Regions from separate parts of the Homo sapiens genome. Here all the other regions are linked to region 1. The links are contacts of gene promoters, found by promoter capture Hi-C in blood cells and fetal thymus (Javierre and others, 2016). All regions are on one chromosome and are shown on one strand. The core of a region is centred on a gene start or on the middle of the fragment in contact, and the rest is flanking DNA. Distances in the headings are between cores, read along the strand shown.

The links. The method cuts DNA at HindIII sites, captures the fragments that hold promoters and counts their contacts. A CHiCAGO score of 5 or more calls a contact.
Region 2: a fragment that was not itself captured here is called in contact with the fragment with the promoter of ROBO3 in region 1 in 5 of 17 cell types (non-activated CD4 T cells, naive CD8 T cells, activated CD4 T cells and 2 more); the score reaches 6.1 in non-activated CD4 T cells.
Region 3: a contact is called between a fragment that was not itself captured here and the fragment with the promoter of ROBO3 in region 1, in 2 of 17 cell types (endothelial precursors and total CD8 T cells). The highest score is 6.4, in endothelial precursors.

The regions. Positions count from the first base shown.
Region 1 is chr11:124,863,951-124,867,225 of GRCh38, forward strand. ROBO3 (roundabout guidance receptor 3) reads left to right here and starts at 1,482. Exons shown (of 28, transcript NM_022370.4): 1 at 1,482-1,787. The coding sequence starts at 1,628. RefSeq lists an enhancer at 1,798-2,474. The HindIII fragment of the contact is 17,224 bases long and covers 1-3,275 here.
Region 2 is chr11:124,629,464-124,632,738 of GRCh38, forward strand. It overlaps TBRG1 (transforming growth factor beta regulator 1), which reads left to right. Exons shown (of 9, transcript NM_032811.3): 6 at 925-1,022; 7 at 1,282-1,392; 8 at 1,812-1,954; 9 at 2,630-3,275. The coding sequence ends at 2,775. Among named protein-coding and RNA genes, the nearest start is that of TBRG1, 8.2 kb to the left of the region's middle. The HindIII fragment of the contact is 875 bases long and covers 1,187-2,061 here.
Region 3 is chr11:124,647,536-124,650,810 of GRCh38, forward strand. SIAE (sialic acid acetylesterase) reads right to left here. Exons shown (of 10, transcript NM_170601.5): 5 at 2,084-2,261; 6 at 531-640. Among named protein-coding and RNA genes, the nearest start is that of SIAE, 25 kb to the right of the region's middle. The HindIII fragment of the contact is 495 bases long and covers 1,343-1,837 here.

The DNA of each region.
Region 1 (3,275 bases), core at 232-2,731:
GCTGAAAAGGACAGCTCCCAGGGCGCTGCGTGGCGGTGGGGTGGGGGGTCCATCCGGCCCCACCCCCACTCCCACCTACCCCCTCCCCCACACCTAGTGCTTCCAGCCTTTCTACGTCCCGCCCAGAACTGCTAGGGTTGGAAGGCACCTAAACACCCATAGTTGGAGGCTCACAGCCAGGCGCCTGGACTGAGGAAGGAGGCTTGGAACAAGCCCCCCACCCCTTGACAATGTCTCGGGTTCCCTTGAACAAGCTCTGCCTGAAATATTTCAATTCTTGATTCTGCTTACTCCAGAGTCTGCGACTGTATAGCACCCACCCCTCTGATCTCGACCCCTTTGGGGTCAGAAGCAGTCGCCCCATGAAAGTTGTCTCATCCCAGAACCTGACGGCTGAGCCAGAACTCTGGCACTGACTCTTCAATCAGCAGGGCCTTACCTCAGGTTAGGAATGCCCCGGCCTCTCTCTTTCCCTGATACCCCAAAGCCATCTCCTGTCTAGGAAAGTGAGTTTGTCGAGGTGGGTCTTCAGGTAGAAAGAACTCCAGAAAAGTCAGAAGCAGACCGCGACTGGAAGTGGGAGGTGGGAGTAGGGGCCCATGGTTTTCTTTTCGCCCCCCCCAGGAAGGACGACTGCTATCCGATTTGAACAGATTTGCACTAATTTTGCAGCAATCCCACATGCCTTTACAAAAATAATATTATCTTTGTTTTTGTCCTAGAATCCTTGGTTCCATTTCAGTCTCCTCAAAAACGTAAAACAATTTAATAAAAAATGTCAAAGCAGGGTAATGTAAAAGGATTCAAATAAATGACAGTTGCCTGGGTTTCCCTGGCTTTCAGTCTCCTACAGGAACTCCTAGATTAGGGCGTTTGGAGCAGGACTCCCGGGTCAGGGCGCGCCGCTCCATCCTCTGGCCTCCTGGCTGCAGACCAAAGGACCAGAGGGCAGAGAGGTGGACCTGTCTTGGAATTCTCTGCCTACTCCCAACTCTTGCTGCAAACCACCCCAGTCTCCTGCCCTTCCGTCGCCAAACCCCTAGACTTGGGAGGGAATGGAAACCAGAACTTTGGCAGCAAGGAGCATTGCTTGCGCTTTGCCTCAGTTTCCAAAAGGTTCGGGAAAAGAGAGGACAGATTCCTGTTCTAAAGTTGGGCAGAAGGGCAGAGTCCGACAGAGCCTCGTCCCTCATCTTGGGTGCTTTGAGACAGGGAAAATCTCTCGCCGCGTCCAGAACGGAACGCTGGGCTTGGGGTGCGGGGCGGGGACTCCAACTCGCGCGCTACGCTACTCGTGTCTCCTGCTCGGATAGTGACTGTAGAGGTAAGGGTGGGAGGGTGGAGGGAGGCGGATTAATCCCTTAATTACGCCGTGATCGGCGTGGCACCTGCTTTCCGCCTGCCCAGCTCCCAGGGGACTCCGGCACTAGGGGGTGGAGAGAAGGACGAGGGAAGGAGGAGGGCACGAAGAGGCACCGACCGTACCCAGGCGCACCGGCAGGAGAGCGGCACCGTGGCTGCCGCAGCGCGCAGAGGCTGTGGAGGGGCTTACGGCTCCCAGCCCACGGGTCTCAGACCCAGGGGCTGGGCCCCCAGCCCCCAGTCCCGATCCCAGCTGGGTCGAGCCATGCTGCGCTACCTGCTGAAAACGCTGCTGCAGATGAACTTGTTCGCGGACTCTCTGGCCGGGGACATCTCCAACTCCAGCGAGCTGCTCTTGGGCTTCAACTCCTCGCTGGCGGCGCTCAACCACACCCTGCTGCCTCCCGGCGATCCCTCTCTCAACGGTGAGACCCTGCCTCTTGGGGATATGGGATCCTGGGATGGGGATGAGGTGAGAGGGCGGCGTGGAAGGGAAGGAGAAGCGCTCCTGTCCCGAGGTCCGGGATTGAGTGGCGCCTCCCAGCGCCTCCCTGGGTCGTGGGGTCTAAGGGATAATTTGGAGCTTCGAGCACATGAGTGGGGGTACCCGCGGGAGGTCGAGGGCTTGGGAGAAGATGGCTACTGAGTCTTTTTACACCTCCTTCCCTTCCCCTACAACGCCCACCCCAGGTGAGAAGAACCGTTGCTGGTAACGGGCAGGGAAGTCCGAGCTAAGAAAGGCCCGGGCCCAGCGCAGGGAGGGCAGAGGAGGGGGCACAGTCTCCCGCCGGCCTCGGCCAAGCCAGGTCACTCGGTGACCCACCCAGGCAGCTGGTCTTCGGAACCCCGAAGTTTCCCAAGAACTCACTTAGGACCAGAGGAAGCCAAAATGCTGGATGTGTTTGCTACGGAGGGGATAGGGGCGGCGATCATTTTAAGGAAACTTAGAAGTTTGTCTTTCAGCGGCGGGACTCTCAGCCGGCCCACCCCGGCAGAGCTGTGGCGGGCGGGCGGAGCTGGCGGCGAGGTCGTTACCGCTAATTACGGTGATTAATAAATGACTGGGACAGCGCGCTCTCCCCTAGCGCCGCGGGGAAGCTGCGGGAGCCGGCCGCCGCCAGCCTGCGGAGAGGCCGGAGCGCGCCCCCTGCCTGCCGCATCGGGAACCCCCGCTTTACCGGGCGCTTTCGCGTGTGGTTCCCTCCAGGTGCACGCGGTCCCCATCCCTCTGCCTCGACCCACTCGAGTCTAGTGACGAGCACTGTGCTGGGGACTCGAAGGTGGAGAGAAAGGAGACCCTGGCAATATGTGTGTGTTCATGTGTGGGGCACATCAGGTGCTGAGGGAGGAGCCCCAGAGCCTCATTAGCATGGCCATTAGCTATTCATTAGGCTGCAGTCGAAGCATCTCCTGAGACCGGGAAGGGTAGAGGGGGAAATTCCAGGGAAAGGGCGCCTGCAGCTGTGTCTACAGGAATTAGGGGGAAAAGGCCGACCAGAAGGGTGTGGTCCGTATAGAAGGATTGGGGAGAAAGACGATGGGGGAGGAGCCCGATTCTCCAACCTCTTGACCCTCCTAGATTTCCAGGAGGTTAAGCACAGATCCCTTCTCGCTGGCACCCCGCAGAGTCCCGCTTCTGCTCACCTAGCGCGTTTACAGAGTGTTTTCACCATACTTTGTCTCATCTAAGCTCGAAACTTAGTGAGGTATGCAAGGAAGGTGTTGACAGACACATTTTGCCGCCGAGAAAACGCTTTATAGAGTGAATGGTGCCCTAATCGTCACAAAAGCAGCATGAAGCAAAACCTAGCGATAACAGATCAGTCCATTTCCATTACACCTGAGGGCTATACCAAGGGGAAAAAAGAATATTGGGGCCTGGTAGAATTTGATTCAGGTAGAGACTGTAGGAG
Region 2 (3,275 bases), core at 374-2,873, 230 kb before region 1:
GAAAACCACCATTGATTGAAACCACTCACAAGAGAATTTATTACTGACAAAATTGACAGATCTCTAAAATTTGACACGGTAAATTGAATCCAGTGAAATAATAACCACAGAAGAAAACTAACAGTAGTGGAAACTATACTCAGTAAAAATTGCTTTGACTTTTTTTAGAAATCAGTAGTGCTCGATATCATTCTAAAAAATTATACAGAAAATAAATTAATCCTGTTCAGGATAATTTGACTGAAGTAAACATTGAAGAACTAGAAACTGTTTAAATGAACTTTAAAACTAGTCAAATAATTTAATTGGCTAGATAGAACTTGTTACAGAAATATTTTCCTGGCAAAAAAATCATTGCGCTTTATAGAAAACTGGCCAAATAATTAAATCAGCTAGTTAACTTGTTACATTTGTTACAAAAATATTTTCTTGGCAAAAATTCCTCAGAATTAGTGTAATTTCGATGCAACAGTTTCTTTTTATTAACATAACCAAGATATTTTAACGTTCAAAATGAAAGTAAATACAATGAAATGGCAGTTTGCAGTCAGCCTGTTTCTCCTAGATCTTGTAAAATTGACTTAAAAGATTACATGGAGAGTGATCTCATTTGTTTTTAAAATACCATTTGTATTTGTACTTAAGGATATAAATAAGTGGATTGGAAAGGTACACAACAAATTAAACGCTCACTTTTGGAAAGCTGTCAACCAAGAAGGGTAGAACTGAAACAGTCAAAGGACTTTCTCTAGGTACTTGGATTTGTTTCAATTTTTAGCAGCCCTATAGGAAAGTATGTGTGTCCCTTCTGAAGATGGTATACGTCAGCTTCACGTTCCAGAGTAAAGAAATATTTACAGAGTAGTATGCCCCTCTCTCCTTCCTTCTTGAGGATTGATCTCATTGCTCGTTTGTCTTTCTCAGTTTGAAATTGTTCCTGAAGATGACCCCCAGAATGCCATTGTCAGCTCTTCTGCAGATGCTTGTCATGCAGAACTGCTCAGGACTATAAGCACTACTATGTAAGTTGACCAAAAGCTTGAAAACAGGCTAAAAGATCACTGTTGGTACAGTGAAACCTTTTCTCTTGCTTTTAATGGGTGGAGATACTTTATTTTATAGAAACCTATCCTGGATCCTCCTGACATTGTGCCAACTAGAGCCTCCACATTATCAAAGTCAAGAAAGCTTATCCTGTTTGTTCATACCACTATTCTGTTCTTAAATCCATCTTCATCTCCCGCTAAGCTCTCAAACTAAAATTATCCCTCTCCTGTTTAGGGGGAAACTAATGCCTAACCTGCTTCCAGCTGGAGCTGACTTTTTTGGATTTTCTCATCCAGCCATCCACAACCTGATCCAGAGCTGTCCAGGAGCTCGAAAATGCATCAAGTAAGTGTGATCAAATTCATTCCCTTGAGAAAAGCTCAGTGATCATCCGGCCAGGGACTGGCAGTTCCTACTTTGTTCACTGACCTTCTGTGTCCAAAGCCTGCCTGCTTCTCGACCAGTAGGGCTCAGTATTGGCCCCCTTAGCCCTCTGGACAGGTAAGCAAGAGCCAGGACTCCACTGTTCGCTGATTATTACTATTTTCTGTATGTACCATGACAGCAAAAGGGGTGGGAAATCTAGCAGACTAATTTGTCACTAAAGAGGCCTGCTTATTTCTTTTAGGTTTTTGTTAGCAAATATGTGTTTTAGATATATATGGGCGGAATATAAAGAAAAATTACCTGATCCCTTTAGTGATAGGAATGGGTATTTATGTCTAGCAGATAACTCTCAAGGGTGATTTCCCTTGATTCTGCAGTTACCAGTGGGTGAAATTTGATGTGTGCAAACCTGGAGATGGGCAGCTACCTGAGGGGCTGCCGGAGAATGATGCAGCTATGAGCTTTGAAGCCTTTCAGAGACAGATCTTTGATGAAGATCAGAATGATCCCCTTCTGCCAGGTATCTTTAACTTTACCTTTCTGGTTTGAAAATTGACTGTGTTTAGGCTACCTTCCCATCTTCACACATAGCCGAGTACCCTAAATATCTATGCATTGAGTGATAAAAGCTTTCATTGAATCAGCCTTGCGGAGTGCTGAGTTAGAGGGGGACCTGCGGCCTGCATAGCTTCCTAGATTACTCACAGATGTCATGGGGAGCACCTGCGATCATAGTAAGGCAGGGTACCCCAGAAACTAAGGTATCTCATTCTGTAACCTAAGCAAGACTGGAGCAGAACACCAGGGGAAAGTTTACTGTGCAGGGAATAACATTTCAAGTGAAGTCAGTGGGGTCAAGTCAAGGCCTTGGCCCTGCCTGTGTTCCATGAGTTCCTCCCACAAATGAGTGATCAAGGGTTCAGGCTTTGGGGTCATATAGGGAAAACTCTGGGTTAAAAAATGGAATTGAAATTCTCACTCTTTGCCTAATATACTATATAACCCTAGGCAAGTCACTTAATGTTTCAACCAGTTTTCATTGTAAAAGTATCTGTCCTATCTTAACAAAGGCAAAATTGAGCTGACAAATGCAAGGGTGTTAAGGAATTGATTGAAAGGACATGTATATGTCTGACCAAAACAGTCTGCCCAGACTCCCGAGCAGCAGTGGAACTTAAGGAATTGTTTTCTCCAGGATCCTTGGACCTCCCAGAGCTTCAGCCTGCAGCCTTTGTGTCTTCTTACCAGCCCATGTACCTGACACATGAACCCTTGGTAGATACTCACCTGCAGCACTTGAAGTCTCCATCACAGGGTAGCCCAATTCAGTCTTCAGATTGAACAAGAAGGGATCAGATGCCACATCGTTTTTGTCGTGATTAATTTAACTTAAACTAAAATTTTGGGTATATGAAAGAAGGCAGCAATTCAGAAGTAAAGAAGATACTAACGTATTTCATCATGGAAGGTCCTGTGGTGATGGTTTTCCCTGGGAAAACCTTCAGCTGCTTTATTTTTAGTAATAAATTTCTCTTGTCAATTCTGTTTACTTTCATCTTGTAATCGGGATGTAATCTTTTTTGCTTAGCTCTGCCTGAGGTAAAGTAAACTTCAGCCTCTTATAAACAAGAGTGATAGAGAGCTGCAGGCTGCTACAACAAATACCATAGACAGGTTGGTTTATAAATAACATGAATTTATTTCTCACAGTTCTGGATGCTGGGAAGTCCAAGTTCAAGGAGCGCAGATTCAATGTCTGGTGAGGGCCCACTTCCTAGTTCTTAGACAGCTGTCTTCCTGCAGTGTCCTCACGTGGTAGAAGAGGAAGGCAGCTCTCCGGG
Region 3 (3,275 bases), core at 340-2,839, 220 kb before region 1:
GACTGCAAAAATGACCACACATTACTCTCCTCCCTCCATCCATGCCCTGAGGTAGTGGTCTTCCCACGGTCTCTCTGGACTGGTCTTTTTCCAGCCAGTGGGGCATCAGCAAATGTGGTACGAACAGAGGCTTGAAAAGTACTTCAGGTTTGGGCTCTGTCCTCTCCTGATGACCCTGGAATCCTGAGACTATTATATAAATAATAAATGAGTCTATACTGGCTTGCTGAAGGATAAGAGGTCACCTCAGAACCATGTTGCAACAGCCCCCAGACAATACATCTAGGGAGAGACCATCCTAGGTCATCCAGCCACCAGACAATCTGCCAGGTGGCCAAAGACACATAAGAGGTCCCAGCAGGAATTAGCTGAAGCAGCCCAGACATAAAAACTACCCTGCTCACCCACAGAACAGTGAGCTGAATAAAATTATAAAGTTATTGTTGCTTTAAGCCACTACGTTCTAGGGTGCTGTGTTATACAGCAAACGCTATCTGATACAATGGAGAAAGAGTACACTGAACACTTACCCTGGTACCATACTACCCCTTTCAGAGTCATATTGCACAGTGGATGGATCATGGCATTCCAGAGAACAGAGTGCTTACTGGGACCAGTTACAGAATCGTATGGAATGGACCTGAAATCATATGATGCACAAGTGTCACCAGAGAGCCAGTGATTGATCACATAAGGGTCCCTAATTGGTCATCTATCCACTTTCACTTGTGGTAAACTTCTGATGAAAGCAACACAGAATTAAAATTGAATCGAAACTCTTTTTCTTGAAAACATATGAATATTCTCTGAATTTCACCTCCAGGTTATTCCCAAAATAAGTGTATCGGTCAGCTTTCTATGGTAATTAAAGGTAATTTCTAAGGTAATTAAAGCCACAGGGAAGGAGTGCTTTATTGTTGAGTTTCTCACATTGTGGGGGGGGGCCAATAAATTTACCTAACTTTTATTAAATAAACCTTTATTTAATGCACAGACATTTAGGTTGTTTTAAACTTTTTGCTTTTATATGGAATGCCAAGATCATCTTCCTTATAGCTAAGTCATTGCATACATGCTTAACTATATCCATAAGATAAATTCCCAGAAATGAAACTGCTGTGTCAAAGGGCATCTTTTTTAAGGCTCTGAACACGTTCTCAAATTTCTCTGTAGAATATTTATATGAATTTATCCTGTAGCTGCTGCGTGTGAGAAGCCCACTTGCCCACACCCTCGGGATTATCCCTTCCACCCCCAGAGATCTGGTCTAACGCTCACTCCTACTCTACTGCAGGCCATTCTTCCTGTTCCAAAGTTGAATATCTTCACTCCCCCACAGGCAAGCTTTTACCCAAACTATACCCAGAGCTCAAGCCCATCCTCCTCCCACAGGGCTTCCCAGCGTGAATGAGACATGGTCCATGAAAGCAAGTCACATACTGCTCATCTCTACATTGATGTTAGTATCGGGATTTGTATTCACTAGCCCTTTCCCTCCCCAAGTATTCTTCCTGATCCAGCCTTTCCTAAGCAGGTGTTCATAATCAGTATACTGATACATTTCTTTGAGTACATGTTTATAACATTTGTTCTTCCTGTTGGATTGTTTATTCTTCTAGGCAATACAGCACAATGGTTAGGTGCACAGACACTGAAGCCAGACTTGCCACTTACTAGTCATGCTCATGAGCAAGTTACTAAGTCTCTCTGAAATGTAGTGTCTTCACCCATGGTCTTTAATATCTACACTTCAATATATTAATATATAATAATATATATTCAATATATTCATAATTTATATATATAAAGTGCTTAGCACAGTGTCTGGCATATAAAAAGCTTTCAGTAACCACTAGCTATTACTATTACTGGGGGAAAAGATACTTTTTTTTTACATGTTCTCAAACGATTGTGGTGGCAGTGACAGTGAAAATAATGCTTTCCCTCTACATGAATAAATTACATACATTCAACACATATTGGGACATTCACCATATACTTAACTCCCCACAGAGGACGATGACCCTCTCTCTTGCATAATTCCCTGGTAGGCTCTTTCTCAGACTGGAGAATGCTGTCTTACCCTTGTTTAGGGACCCCACAGGCTTTCAGTGACCGTCCAGATGACCAGGCTTCAATGGGTGTCCCGCCCCAGCTGGAGGCGATCAGCCCGATGGGATACTGCAGAGTGTCATAAAGGTGACGTCCAAAGAGCCAGCACACTGCTGACATGTACTTGAAATATCCATGGCCTAAGTTTTCTGTTCAGAGAAATGGTTAAAGAAAAAGAGCCAGAGAAAGGTTGATGGATACAAACTGCAGCTGCTAGGTGGGTCGAGGTGAGAAGGGTGGGCAGAGGTCATTCTTCTGTTGTTTTCTAAGACTTTCAAAAGTAGGATAAGATTGAGAGGCACAGAGAAGATACAGCATCAAGACCAATATGCTGGTCTGAACACTATTATCTCTTCCAAACCTTCCCTAAGGAGAATCTTTTCCAAGGGAGAAAACTGTAACCTTAGTGATAGTTTCCTTTTATCTGTCTTCATGTTTTTTCAGTTACTCAAAATGCTTGTTCTCATAACAAGGAAATAGCTCTCTCTGCCTGGGAGAGAGGCAGATATGATAGCGATTTTGCTCTCAGTCTGATTATAAATAATTCACTTACATAACATGGAAGTTAAAACTCTGGCTAGGCAATAGGCTTCCCCATGCTTCCCATCACTTACAGGATCTGCAGACTCTCGGATAATCAATGCTCTCCCTCAAATAGGTGAGAGGTGGGAGGGCCATCATGTCCCCATGCTACTCTCTTCTGTGTCTCCCCTCTTACTCAGCCACTCATTCCCACTTAGCTCTGTGGAAGGGAAAAAGCAAGGAGGGGGCAACTTAAGAAGAAATGTGTATTTCTTCTTTTTTCTGGTGGCTTTATACCCAATTTTATAGCTATGCTAAAGAGGCTGGGCGCAGTGGCTCACACCTATAATCCCAGCACTTTGAGAGAATGAGGCAGGTGGATCATCTGAGGTCAGGAGTTCGAGACCAGCCTGGCCAATATGATGAAACCCCGTCTCTACCCAAAATACAAATATTAGCTGGGCGTGGTGGTGGGCACCTGTAATCCCAGCTACTCGGGAGGCTGAGGCAGGAGAATCGCTTGAACCTGGGAGGCATAGGTTGCAGTGAGCTGAGATCGTGCCATTGCACACCAGCCTGGGCAACAAGAGCAAAACTCTGTCTCAAAAAAATAAATAATAAATAAAATAAAAGTCAAAAAA